Regions from separate parts of the Homo sapiens genome. Here region 2 is linked to region 1. The links are contacts of gene promoters, found by promoter capture Hi-C in human tissues and cell types (Jung and others, 2019). All regions are on one chromosome and are shown on one strand. The core of a region is centred on a gene start or on the middle of the fragment in contact, and the rest is flanking DNA. Distances in the headings are between cores, read along the strand shown.

What was found. Contacts are between HindIII fragments. The study calls those that stand out against the background at their distance.
Region 2: a fragment that was not itself captured here is called in contact with the fragment with the promoter of ADCY6 in region 1 in 1 of the 25 tissues and cell types used here (adrenal gland).

Annotation. Positions count from the first base shown.
Region 1 is chr12:48,783,866-48,791,220 of GRCh38, reverse strand. ADCY6 (adenylate cyclase 6) reads left to right here and starts at 2,132. Exons shown (of 22, transcript NM_015270.5): 1 at 2,132-2,315. ADCY6-DT (ADCY6 divergent transcript) reads right to left here and starts at 2,074. Exons shown (of 3, transcript NR_110019.1): 1 at 1,994-2,074; 2 at 1,102-1,236; 3 at 686-908. RefSeq lists an enhancer at 3,185-3,729. The HindIII fragment of the contact is 15,533 bases long and covers 1-7,355 here.
Region 2 is chr12:48,930,070-48,936,855 of GRCh38, reverse strand. ARF3 (ARF GTPase 3) reads left to right here. Exons shown (of 5, transcript NM_001659.3): 5 at 1-1,133. It also overlaps a transcript of FKBP11 not described here. Among named protein-coding and RNA genes, the nearest start is that of FKBP11, 8.0 kb to the right of the region's middle. RefSeq lists a silencer at 178-367. The HindIII fragment of the contact is 5,943 bases long and covers 1-5,344 here.

The DNA.
Region 1 (7,355 bases), core at 883-3,382:
TAGCCAGGATGATCTTGATCTCCTGACCTTGTGATCCGCCCGCCTCAGCCTCCCAAAGTGCTGGGATTACAGGCATGAGCCACCGCACCCGGCCTAAAATTTCATTTTTTAACGCATATTTATCTCAATTGTTTTTTGCATTTTCCCCATGTGGCTCATGAGCACATTATTCTAAGCGTAAGTGGTAGATAACCTGATTCAGGTATTTTGAAGAGGAAATTTTGATAGCAAAAACAATTTTTTTTTTTTGAGACGGCGTCTCGCTCTGTCTCCCAGGCTGGAGTGCAATGGCGTGATCTCGGCTCACTGCAACCTCCGCCTCCCGGGTTCAAGCGATTCTCCTGCCTCAGCCTCTCGAGTAGCTGGGACTACAGGTGCCCGCCACCACGCCCAGCTAATTTTTAATAGAGACGGGGTTTCACCATGTTGGCCAGAATGGTCTCGATTTCTTGACCTTGTGATCCACCCGCCTCGGCCTCCCAAAGTGCTGGGATTACAGGCGTGAGCCACCGCGCCCGGCCAGCAAAAACAATTTTTAAGGAAATTTTGAAGTGAGAAGTCAGGCAAAGAGGCCCCAAAGATCAAATTGCAGGCCAGGCCTGCACAACTGAGAAATGAGAAAGTACCACTTTCCCATTTTCAAACATTATAACAAACATTTCTCTATCTGATTCTGAAAACCCTGTAAGAAAGACAAGGCAGATGGTTTTATTCCCATTTCAAGAGATTGATGATTTACCCAAGGTATATAGTTTGCAGGTACACGTGGCTGATAAATGTTGGAAACTGGCTTTCCCAACTCTTCTTTTCCTTGCCTGAAGCTCTGTCCTGGACTTAGGAATCCCAGTGGTGATTTGGAGTGGACAAGACTTGAGTCTTGAAGGACAGGACTGCAGGGAGGGCTGGTCCTGAGGAGGAAGCATCTTCAGATACCTAGGTCTTGGGATCTTGGGTGGGGAATAGGCTGCTTGGGGAAGGGCTGAATTGGAAGGAGGAGCTAGAGGTCTGACTGAGGGAATGGAGAGGGGGCCTCAAAAGGAAGCCAGGCAGGCTGCCTTCTTCCCAGCTCCAGAATGGCACCCCCTCTAAAGTCACACTCACCTACGTACATCCTGGAGTGAAACTCCTTCTCCTTTCTGCTTCCACCATTACTCTAATCCTCAAAGGGTTAACCAGCTTTCACACGATTTTCCCATCTCCCAGGTAACTTGGGCAGCTGCTCCGTGCTGGAAATAACTAAAGACCCAGTTTCTCAGTTCGTGCACTTAGCAATGCACCCCAGTAGCCCCTCCAACCCCCAGCAGAGAAGCACAGCCCTTTGGGTAAAAGATGCCTGGGGGTGAGGCTGCAAGTTGGCAGGTGCGGGGGAGGGGCTCCCAGAGAGTAGGGCGGGGGGTTGTGGGGGCGGCAGGGAGAGTGCCCCTTCCCTGGGTCCCTCCACTGGGCCCCGAGGTTCGCCTCGGGGCCGCTGCCCCAGAGACTGGGGGGAAGAGGAAAGAAGTGGTGTGCGGGCAAGCAGGCCGCACACACCTGGCGCCTTGTGGAATGAGAGCTTAATTAATTATTAAACTGAGTTCCCGCGGGAGGGCGCAGGGCCGTGACAGGCAGGGCGGGAATGGCTAGGTGGGGGCTGGGGCTGGGGCAGGGGCAGGGAGGAATTGGGGATGAAGAGTGGGCGCGGGGCGCCGGCCCAACCCCTGGGACCCTGACAGGAAGGAAGGCGACCCTCGGTGGGCGGGGCGGGGGATGTAGCCGTGAGGGGTGGGTTTGCGGGCGCGCTCGGGGACCCCCGGGGTGAGGGCGGGAGAGGAATGCCGGAGGAGGCGGCCGGGGTGAAGGGAAGGGGACCGGGCTGCGAGGTCCCCTCCCCGCGGGGTCTTGATCCCAGAACAGTAGCTGCTTGTCTTCCCAGGACTGGGGGAGGAAGCGGCCGGAGGAGAGGAGGGGGCGCGCGGAGGGAGGGGTCCCATTATTTGGCCTCCTCCGCCCCTACCCCGCTGCTAGGAAGGGGAGTGGGCAACTCGGCCCCCACTTCTGGGGAGGGGGAGGGGGATGCCCAGACAAAAGGAGCTTGTGCCTTTAAGGCGGGGAGTCCGGGAGCCAGCGGGGAGGGGACTTCTGGATCCGGGGTAGAGGGCGGCTGCGCTGGACAGCTCGGGAGGGGGCGAGGGCCGGGCGGACGGCGGACGGCGGACGGCGGGCGGGACGGCCAGGACGCGCGGGCTCGGAGGACCGCGGGACGGCCGGCCGGCCGGCCGGAGCCCGCGGGGGCGGCGGGGCGGGGGCCCAGGGCAGGCGCGGAGCCGGGCCGGCAGGTGAGCGCGCTGAGGGCTAGGGGAAGTGGCCGCTCGGGCTCCCGGTGCGCCAGGATTGGAACGCACCCGAGCGGCTCTCGACAAGAGTTTGTGGGTGGGGGCGCCGAAGCCTTGGACGGGTCGTCTCGGCAGTGTTGCCCGAGGGAGTTGGGGTTGGCAAAGGGAAGTCATGGAGGCAGTGGGATCGAGGACTCCTAGGTCCGGCGCTCGCCACCCCCGTCGCCCGCCGCCTGCCTCCCTCCACGGGGCGAGTTCCAGGCTGGCCCGGAGGCCAGGAGGATCTGGCACGTACTGGGGGAGGGGCTGGCCTGAGTTTTTTGCTGCGGGGCTGTGGGGTGTCTCCGAGTTTGGGGGAGATTCCATTTAGGGGAGAGGAACCGGCCTGGGCAGAGGGAGGGATGCCCTCTGTCTGCGGGAGTCCCTCTCCTTCCCCTCACCCAAAACCTTGGGAATGAAAGGGGTGGGGTCGGCTCCCCACATCCCCCAAGGCCTGCCGCAGGGTGGGCAGGGGAGCTGACTTTATTCAAAGCAGACTCTGGGGCTCGACTGAAAGGCTAGAGGTGGAATCAGGCGTGGGAGCCTCTTTGCCCATATCCTCTCCTTACCAGATTACCCCTGTGAGCTGGAGGGACCTGGTGGGGGTTGCATAGTAAAGGGTGATGTGGGAGCCCTCTGTAATCTTTAGGGAGAGTGAGGACTGGGGATGGGAGAAGGCGGCAGCGGGCACTGGACCGACAGATACAGGCCCTGGGTAGGCTCCTCTACATCTGGAAAGGCCCAGAATTGAAGAATTGAGGCCCATGTCCGAGTATGGTGGGTGGTGCTGGCACTGCTGGGCCCCGCCTGGGCAGTGCCTCTTACCATGAACTTTCTGAAGTCGTTTTTAATCCCCTGGAGCCTCCTTTTGCCAAGGAGGGCAGGGGCAGATGGGCCCTGGGGATGGGATAGACAGGAGGTGGCCAGGAAGGCTTGGCAAGGCAGTGGGCAGAGCCATCCTTAGGGCTGGGCCTTGGCCTTGGCTGGTTCCAAACTCTGGTCTCAGCCTGATCAGGGTTTGGGAGGGACTTGAGGTCTGGGAGGCACTGAGCCTGGGCCTGCCAGGCTGAATGGGACATGGCTGTGGCTGTGGGAGCCGGTGGTATGAAGAACAGCAGATCTGTGAGAGTGCAAATGGACCAACACTCAGGGGAGGAGAAGGTAGAGGCACAAGGCTTAGGAGCCTGACTCTGGGGAGGAGGGAGGTGGTCTGTGCTCCCAGGGCTCATAGTGATGGGTTGCTGGACAAAGTGGGTTGGGGGACCATATAGAGAAATTTTGTGGCTTGGAACAGTGCTCTACCCTGTTTCCTGCCATACCAGTCTGGCATGGGGTGCCAGAAATGTTGGGAGGCCGGCAAGTTCTGCGGGATGGGCAGTGCCTGGAGTGGAGCCCAGGGTGGGATGGTTGCAGTTGGTTGGACAATTACATAGCTCTGAAGCTATCCCCTTGGGGGGGGTCAGAGTGTTCCTGGGAGGGTCATGCATTCTCCTGGATAGCATTTGCCCCTTTCTCTGTGAGTATGAGCCAGATGCTAGGATGTGTTTCCAGGGGGCTTGGAACATGGCCAGAAACTAGTCCTTTGGGAACAGGTCCGGGCCAGTGCTGGTGGGGGTGGTGTGTTGGGGGAGATAAGAACAGGGAAGGGGACTGGTGAATGGAGGAGGCTGAAGCAAAATGTTGTGGGTGGTGGATGGTGGTGGGAAACCTGCTCACTCTGGGCTCTGTCTCCAGCAGCTCTGGGGACTGACAGCCAAGGACACAGGGACTGATAGAACCAGGCATCTGACTGGCTAGAAAGACGTGTGTTCTTGCTCATGATTTCCTCATCTTTCCATCTCTTGACGATGACAGAGGTTTGGGTTTAAAGTGTTGTAGAGTGAGGAGAAGAACTAATATTTTTCAAGTGTGTACTTCTTGACAGGCATTATTAGATTCTTTCCTGAGGACCATTATCATTTCCATTTTGCAGATGAAGGTACTGACACAGAGAGGTTAAATAACTTGCCCAAGGCAGTGTGGCTAGCAAATAATCACGCTAAGGTTTGGAACCCTGGTCTCATGCCAAAGATCATGCTTCTAATGAAGTATTTTGAAGAGCAAGGCTTTCTTTGGTGACCTTTTCCAAATGCCAGCCTGACCAAAAGTCTTGTATTCCTGATCTGTCCTTCCAGATGGTGCTGTTGGTGATGTTAAGAGGTTGAAGGGGCCAGGCATGGTGGCTCATGCCTATACTCCCAGCACTTTGGGAGGCCGAGACAGGCAGATCACCTGAGGTTAGGAGTTCGAGACCAGCCTGGCCAACATGGTTAAACCCTGTCTGTACTAAAAATACAAAATTTAGCCGGGTGTGGTGGTAGGTGCTTGTAATCTCAGCTATGGGGAAGCCGAGGCAGAATTGCTTGAACCCAGGAGGCAGAGGTTGCAGTGAGCTGAGATTGTGCCACTGCACTCCAGCCTAGGTGGGGCAGAGTGAGACTCCGTCTTAAACCAAAAAACAAAAGGAGGTTGAAGGACGTGCTGCTCTGTGGGATATAGGAGAAGGGGTGCTGACAGATCTTGGCTGAGGGTGACTCAGGGATGGGAGGTTTGGGGTATGCAGAGAATTCCCCAGCCTGCCTTCTGCGTGTGGGTCCCTGGGTGTCTGCTTCAAGCGCTGCCCATCTGGCTTGAGCTCTCATTCTATGGCCACCTGGGGCAAGTGCTGAGTATTCCTCCATCCTGTCCCCGAGTGAGTACAAATGTCAGTGCTGCTAGCTCAGCAGGTTTAATTACAAGGGACCCCTCAGGGTACTCTGTGAGCATAGAGGAGTGTGGCCCTGGTGGGGACACAGGCATGCATGGATGACAGTGCTGTCAGCCTCATCTTATTCTGACCTGGGCTCAGCCAGGAGTCACATTAAAGGTATCATCATGGAGTCCTCCCACCTCAGTTCATGACATTTCCTCCAGGAAATGTGGGATCTGGGACTGATTTGGTTACCATGATCTCTATAACTTGGGCCAGCCATATAAAACTGCCATGGACCTCAGTTTTTGTTTATATATATTTTTCCTTTCAAATTTGTCTTGTGCCCCAGGGGGCAACAGGACCAGTTTCTCAGGGTTTTGGTGAAGATCAGATGGAATTAGGGATGTGAAAAGATCTTGAACAGTTTAAAGCATAGAGAAAGTGCATGGAGTATCATTCGTCCATCCATCCAGTCATCCATCTACTCAATGAACATTTATTATTATTATTTTATTTTTTGAGATGGAGTTTCGCTCTTATTGCCCAAGCTGGAGCGCAATGGTGTGATCTCAGCTCACTGCAACCTCTGCCTCCTGGATTTAAGTGATTCTCTCACCTCAGCCTCCCGAATAGCTGGGATTACAGGCATGCGCCACCATGCCTGGCTAATTTTGTGTTTTTAGTAGAAATGGGGTTTCACCATGTTGGTCCGGCTGGTCTCGAACTCCTGACCTCAGGTGATCCACTCACCTCGGCTTCCCAAAGTGCTGGGATTACAAGTGTGGGCCACCATACCTGGCCTCAATGAACACTTGTTTAGGTCCTTCTAAGGGTTGTGGATACAGCAGTGAGCACAGCAGGTCAAAATCCTTGCCTTCATAAGGCTGACATTCCAGTCAGGAGAGACAGAAAATGAACACATAAGAAAAATATATAGAATGGCAGTTGCTGATTAGAGCTATGGAGAAAAAGCATAAAGCTGGGAAAAAGATAGAGAGCTCCAGGAAAGGGGGTTGCTATTTTAATAGGGTGGTCAGAGGGAGCCTCACTGATAAGGGGACATTTGGGATGTGACCTGGAGGAGCTCTTGTTCCAGACAGAGGGAACAGCAGGCACTGAGGTCCCAGGCTGGCCTGTGCGGGGTGTGTTGGGAAACAGCAAAGAGGTTCTTGTGACTGGGGTGCAGTGAGGAAGCTGAAGAGCCTTAGGATTATCACTGTTAGCTGGTGGCAGATCATGAGGTCAGGAGATCGAGACCATCCTAGCTAACACAGTGAAACTCCGTCTCTACTAAAAAATAGAAAAAATTTCCCTGGGCATGGTGGCAGGCGCCTGTAGTCCCAGCTATTTGGGAGGCTGAATGGTGTGAACCCGGGAGGCGGAGCTTGCAGTGAGCCAAGATCGTGCCACTGCACTCCAGCCTGGGTGACAGAGTGAGACTCCGTCTCAAAAAAAAAAAAAAAAAAAAAAAAACTCCAGATTTTTTCTTCTGCTTCTGTTGAGAAAAATCAGATCGGGACCCACTGGGACCCAGTGGCAACAGTCTACAGCTGCTGGGTGGTGCCTGCCCCATGCACAGGGTATGAACTCTTTTCCTCCCAGTTCTGAACCATAAGCTGCTTCACTCATTGACTTGGGCACTTGAGTTTGTGACCACCAACAAACAGTGCCTTTTAGGGAAATTTTCAAGTATACTGGCTTTGGGGTCAGACAAATCTGGTTTAGAATCGTGGTTCTCTCACTTATGTGGCTGCTGGATCTTTGGGCAACTCTTTCTTCTTTTCTTTTCTTTGTATTTTATTTTATTTTATTTTATTTTATTTCCCTCCCTTCCCTCCCTTCCTTCCCTCTCTCCCTCCCTCCCTCCTTTTTTCCTTCCTTCCTTTTTTTTTTTTTTTTCAGGCTATGGCTATTGCCCAGGCTAGAGTTCAGTGGTGCACAATCCTGGCTCACTGCAGCCTCCACCACCAGGGCCCAAGCAATCCTCCTGCCTTAGCCTCCTGAATGGCCCGGTCTATAGGTGCATACCACCACACCAGGCTAATTTTTTTTTTTTTGAGACGGAGTCTCACTCTGTCACCCAGGCTGGAGTGCAATGGCGCGATCTTTGCTCACTGCAACCTCTGCCACCCGGGTTCAAGCAATTCTCCTGCCTCAGCTCCTGAGTAGCTGGGATTACAGGCGCCCGCCACCACGCCCGGCTAATTTTTGTATTTTTAGTAGAGACGAGGTTTCACCATCTTGGCCAGGCTGGTCTTGAACTCCTGACCTTG
Region 2 (6,786 bases), core at 1,124-3,623, 150 kb before region 1:
TCCTTTTCAATCTCAACTCATTCACTGCTGTTGCTCATTTGCCCTTTTCCATGTATTTTTTCCTACTTAGGATTTTCCACTCTATCTTTGTGGTTCATGAGGACTTTGCCTCTTCTCCTGCCTCATTCCCTGACTTTCTCTAGTTAGATGTCAGTCCTAAATAGGTTTTCCTCACTTCAGGCCTCACCCCTCACCTTGTTTTTTTGGGGGCTCCAGGGACCAATCTGGGGCTGGAAATGTTAGGAGGTTGCCTTGGTGCTGCCCCAGATCTGTCCAGCAGGGGGCAGTAAGTGATCTTGGTAGTATCCCTGGCTGCTAAGCCCTTGGCAGGGGTGGTCCTTTCTACATTCCCATTCACTTAACAGCTCTTTTGGGATTGGGTGTTTCATTCCATTTCTGCCCACTCCCTCTCCTCTCCTCTCTGGTAGGTTTAATTTTATGCTTTCCCTGATTCCAGCTTTCTGCTTCCTGAGGACTCCCGCTCCCCCCACCCCAAAGTTTGTCTGTGGTGTTATAGTGGTAACTGCAGTTCCTCCTCTGGAATGTAGACTGTATATGTTTAATAACTCACCTTCTCTATCCTTGCTCAAAATGTGGGATAACGCGATGACTGTGACCCTGGTTGGAAATTAAACTTGTTTTATGCAGCTTTGGAGCCGACCTTCATCTTTGCTGTGCAGCAGCCGTGGGACAGTAGTTTCATGGTGAGGGGAGTCCTGTTTCTGGTCCCTCTCTCCATAGTGCTCCTTCTTTCAGCAAAGGGGTAAAAGGCACACTTGATTGATAGAGAGTAAGGTTATGGAGGAACTTAGTGCCACTCCACACTGGTTATTTCTTCCCATCATACCCCGCGGCGGGGGAGCCCAAATGAATTGGGCATCAGAGTGTGAGGGCTTCGTGACTTTCCTCCTCTAGTTCTAAAGGGTTTAAACCTGAAATCAGCTGTATTTCTCACCTGTTGGTAGACTGTATGGACTTCACTGGCTGAAGGGCCCTGAACTTGGAGGGCCCCATGTGCCTCTACTCTCAGATCTCCTCAGCCTTGCACATGAGGTGCTTCTAGTTTGAACAGAGACCCCCTCACTAGTCTAGTTCTGGACTTTGGCAGTGAATAAACATGAAGGATAAACGTCTGGGCAGTGTAATGACCTTAATCCTTCTTACAACTGATGGCCCTGCATCAGCTCTACTTCAGGCGTGTGGTTTTTCATTGTCAGGATGCCAAGCCTCATCCAGAGATCCCACAAATGTCTTGAGGAATAGACCTTTTCCATAAAGCCTCCATCCTCCCATCGCACTCCCACCACTATTCTGTTCCTCCCCTGCTACCAGTGTCTGGCTCCAGGCAAAGAAAGGGATGGTGCTACCTTTAGGGTGGGTGAGGTCTGGGTGAGCCAGGCAAGCCTTCCCCAATCTTAATATTTTCTTAAGCTTTGAGGACAGAGGTCTTCCCAGCCTGCTTTTGTGGGAAAGGGATAGGATTTAGGCATATAATAAGTTTGAGAGCCCCAAGTACCAGTGTGAAGCATATAATTTATATTCAGTTACTTCCCTGCTGCCTCCCCTGCCAATTTTCCTTTTCAGCACTTCTATTATTAATAGGCCATCACCCTCAAGGACCAGTGCTTCCACCCATATATAACTCTCAAACTACTCCAACCAGACATGTCTTATCAATCCCAATGACTTTGAACATTACCCACCTACTCCTCAAGATCAGATGACACTTTCCTCCTTCCAGGCTTCTCCAAAGTTCTGCTTGGTGACAGGGTGCTGATAAGAGTATCTTTCCCAAGTGTTTTCTTTCTTCTTCTTCTTTTTTTTTTTTTTTTTTTTTGAGACGGAATTTGGTCTTGTTGCCCAGGCTGGAGGGCAATGGCACGATATCGGCTCACCACAGCCTCTCCTCCTGGGCTCCCGGGTTCAAGCAATTCTCCTGCTTCAGCCTCCTGAGGAGCTGGGATTACAGGCATGCGCCACCACACCCGGCTAATTTTGTATTTTTAGTAGAGATGGGTTTCTCCATGTTAGTGAGACTGGTCTTGAACTCCTGACCTCAGGTGATCTGCCCACCTCAGCCTCCCAAAGTGCTAGGATTACAGGCGTGAGCCACCACGCCCGGCCAGGTGTTTTATTTCTATATTAGCAAATAGATATCTTTCAGAGCTACAACCTCTCATAATGATAAGGGAGAGGACTTTAGCTGAATGGTGGGCCACTGGGGGGTCTTTGGACCCCTGAACAACTTGGGGAAGAGGATGACCTATTCCCATCTGTCCCTTAGTACTCAATTTAGAATGCCAGGAAGGAAGTAGAGGGGAGCCCTCTTGTGGCAGTTGCTGAAGCCTTCCAGTTCTTTTGAGGGGATAGGGGATGAAGAGGAGACTGAACCTGGGAGGTAGATACTTAGCACCCAGCTCTTAGGACAAACAGCAATCCCATCTTCCAGAACATGCATAGCATCAGTCATGGACTGGCGGAAGACTTGGACCCAGGGTCCACTTCAGGATAATCTGGGCAAGGGAGCTTCCCAAATGAGCCTGTAGAAAGCCAGTGGAAGGGCTTAGGTTGGCTAAGGTGGGATGGAGGGCAAAACCCTCCCCTTCATTGCAGAGTATAGGGGCAGTGGCAGAGAATGAATGTATGTGTGGGTTTCTCAGCCTTGAGGTATAAGGTCTAAAGGCTCTGGGGATTCACTGCATACACCACTTCCAGTTCAAGCGCCTAGGTTGGTTACAGCAGGAAGTTGACAAGTATGTATTTAGTACATTCGATGTTTTTAGGCATCTGCTAAAAGTAGGTCAAACCACTGAACTCAGGGAGGGGGCTGGGGATCCATTTCTAGGATGCTGTGGAATCCTTTTGGGACATCTGTAGTATACCACGTTGGGTAGTGAGAGTTGGGGGACACCCCTTCCATTGCTGCTGCTTAGTGTAGGGAGTCATGTCTTTGGGCAGCAGTAATATTATTAAGAAAAGCTTTTTTTTTTTTTGAGACACAGTCTCTGTCACCCAGGCCGGAATGCAGTGGCGTGATCTCGGCTCACTGTAACCTCTGCCTCCCAGGTTCAAGCGATTCTTGTGCCTCAGCCTTTTCCGAGTTGCTGGGATTATGAGTGCACACCACAACTCCCTGCTAATTTTTTTTTTTTTTTTTGAGACGGAGTCTCACTCTTGCCCAAGCTGGAGTGCAATGGCGTGATCTCGGCTCACTGCAACCTCTGCCTCTCAGGTTCAAGCAATTCTCCTGCCTCAGCCTCCGAGTAGCTGGGACTACAGGTATGTGCCACCATGCCCAGCTGATTTTTCTATTTTTAGTAGAGATGGGGTTTCACCATGTTGGCCAGGCTGGTCTTGAACTTGTGACCTCAAGTGATTCGCCCACCTTGGCCTCCCAAAGCACTGGGATTACAGGCATGAGCCACCGTGCCTGGCAGAAAAGCTTCTTTTCCAGTTCTGAAGAGTGTGAAGGTAGGAGAGCCAGAATTCAGTTCTCTCACTTTCCAACCCAGTACCTGGAGAGAGAGTGTCTTGCTGGTCACTGGGGAGTGATAGGATCCGGATGCCCGCCTTCCTCTTCAAGTTTTTCTTTCTGATTGGGTTTCCTGACCCTGATTGCTGGTATGGGTAAGAATGACTCTGAATTCCTGAGAAAAGGGAAGAGGGTTAGGACAGAGGAAATGGAATCATTTAGTCAGGTAAAGGGAGCAAAGCCACCGAAGGCAGTGGTTGGAGGTGTAGATGTGAGGAAGTTGGGTTGAGACCATTCACCATCAAGGCTTGAAGATGAGTGTCTGTTTGTGTGTGTCATGTTGGCTGTGAGTTGCAGAAGAGAGTATCTGGCCTCTAGTTGAGGAGCACTTCCGGCTTCTGAGCTGAACATGGTGTAGAAGAGAGGATACTCAATCCAAAACCCTGGCTATCTATGCAGAGGGCTGACCAGTTCTACCCATGTACCCTTCCTTCCCTCACCCTTCCTCACAAACCAGGCATATTGAGAGCTGTCTGGCAGTCAATCCAGGCGAGGCAGCAGGTTTGAGAATGGGCTTGTCCGCCTGGCACCTGCTTCCCCCCACTTCCACCTTCACCCCTCCATCCCATATATCGTTCAGGGTCCTCCCAGCACAGAATTGAATAGAAGGACTTTTAAGGCTTGGAGGGCTTAGCTTGGGGCTCTAACCCACAGGAATTCTTTCTGAGTTCTGAATATAGTAATAAAGGGCACTCTTGGCCTTAGGTTATAGATAGGAGATGGGGAATCTGTTCTTGTCTTTGCCAAATCTTGCATTTATGGGATGATACCTCTTTGATTAGAACAGCCATAGGGGAAGAGTGGAGGAAGTAAGTAAGTGCTTCATTCTTGGATGAATATATGCATAAACATACCTGAAAGAAAACATCTAGTCAGCTGGGGGTATGTATACCCTTGAAAATACAACACCAGGCCAGGCATGGTGGCTCAATTCTATAACCTCAACACTTTGGGAGGCTTAGGTGGGAGGATAGCTTGAGCCCAGGAGTTTGAGATCAACCTGGGCAACATGGTGAGGCCCCATCTCTATAAGAAAAAAAAAAAAAAAAAAAAAAAAAAAAATATATATATATATATATATATATATATATATATAAATATATGTTTATATGATATATATACAATTATATGTTTATATTATATATATATATATATTTTTACTTTTATTTAAAAAAAATAGAGATGGGATTTCACTATGTTGCCCAAGCTGGTTTCAAACTCCTGGGCTCAAGCAGTCCTCCCACCCCAGCCTCCCAAAGTGCTGGATTTACAGGCATGAGCCATTGTGCCCGGCCAAAAAAAAATGTTTTTAATTAGTTGGGCATGGTGGCACGTGCCTGTGGTCCCAGCTACTCAGGAGGCTGAGGCAGGAGGATTGCTTGAGCCTGAGAGATTGAGGCTGCAGTGAGCTGTGTTTGCGCCACCGCACTGGTGACACAGCAAGACCCTGTCTCAACCAAAATCAAATTTTAAACCCAAATTTATATATGCCAACTCAGGCTTTTACTTTATTAACAACCTGTTATAAATAAACACTTAAGAACATTTAAAGAGCAGTGTTCTGCTTATTCTTTGGCACATAATAGTCATGCAACCTTGATGAACAAATGGATGAATTAATAAACACCATTGTCTTTAATCAAGCTGGGCATGGTGGGTGCCCCATGAGTCTTGGAAGCCCAGGTACTGTGGTAGGGTTTCTCCTACACACTGACAGAGACACCTTTGAGTGTGGAGGCTTTTCTAGCAATGGTTCTGTGATTAAGTTGTATCTCCAGCCAGGGGTGGGCCAACTCTCCTATCTTTCCAAGAATCATCTCACCTTTCTCTGTTGTTTGGATTTCTTCTAACTTGATCCAAGGAAAAAGCTCCTTCTCTGGTCCCTCCAGGGTGCAGATGGGCTTGTGCTGCCTGTGGGTGGATATTGTGTTTAATAGTTTTGCCCTTTCCATTTCTACTACCACCTTCTCCTACTCCACTCCTCTTCCCCTTCAGGTTCCTGAACAGAGCCTCAGACCTGGATAAGACAATAGCCTTCCACCTTCACCACACTGTTCGAGTCTGCTGATACATCAGTGCAGTATGCTGTGTCATCCTTTTGCTTAGAAACTTGCAATGTGTTCCCACTGCCTTAGTCTGACATTCAAGGTTCTTCACAACTAGCCTTTTTTTTTTTTTTTTTTTTTTTTTTTTTTAAGCTGGAGTCTCGCTCTGTCGCCCAGGCTGGAGTGCAGTGGCGCGATCTCGGCTCACTGCAAGCTCCGCCTCCTGGGTTCACGCCATTCTCCTGCCTCAGCCTCCCGAGTAGCTGGGACTACAGGTACCCGCCACCACGCCTGGCTAATTTTTTGTAATTTTAGTAGAGACGGGGTTTCACCGTGTTAGCCAGGATGGGTCTCGATATCCTGACCTCGTGATCCGCCCGCCTCGGCCTCCCAAAGTGCTGGGATTACAGGCGTGAGCCACTGCACCCGGCCTACAACTAGCCCTTAATTCCCTCTCCAGCCACCTCTCTCTAGTCTCTGGCCAAATCCCTTACTTTAGCCAAATCAGTCCATTCATTTTTCCCAAACATCTGGCCCTCTGCCTTCACCTCCTTTCTCACTTGTTTAAAAATCCCACTCCAAGATCTAGCTCAAGTTTCACCTCCTCCACAAAGCTGCCTGTGCCCTCTGCAACTACAAGGACTTTTATAGTTTTTCCCCACGTTGGCTCCTTTAGCTCTGTTAGCACAACTCATTTAACACCTCCCACTCATTCCCTTGTATTGCTATATATCTTGTTTATTCGTGTAATATTTAATATTAAAAATTATTTTTATAACCTGAGAAGTAACATCTGAGCAGGAAAAAAATTATAACCAAAGTAATTTCTATTGTAAAAGATCCAAACAATACAAAAATATACAGAGCAACATGTGGGACATTGCCCTTACTCTTCTCTCTCCCATGCCCAAACGTAACCATCCTCAGCTATTTGATGTGCATCCTTCTAGTTCCTTTTTTAAATGTATGTGCTGACACATGTTTGTGGAGGGGTTAAAATATAAATGGGCTCATATCACATCTGTTATTCTGCTACTTGCTTTTTTACTTAGGGTATATATACATTTGTCTTAGAGATTTTCTATATTAGTGTAATTAGATCTCCTTTTAATGGCTTCTCAGTATTTCATAGTATAATTTCTTCAAAGTAAAACATACTGTCTAGAATCTATTATTTGGAGGCTATCGTGTAGCTAGTACTTAGCTCCA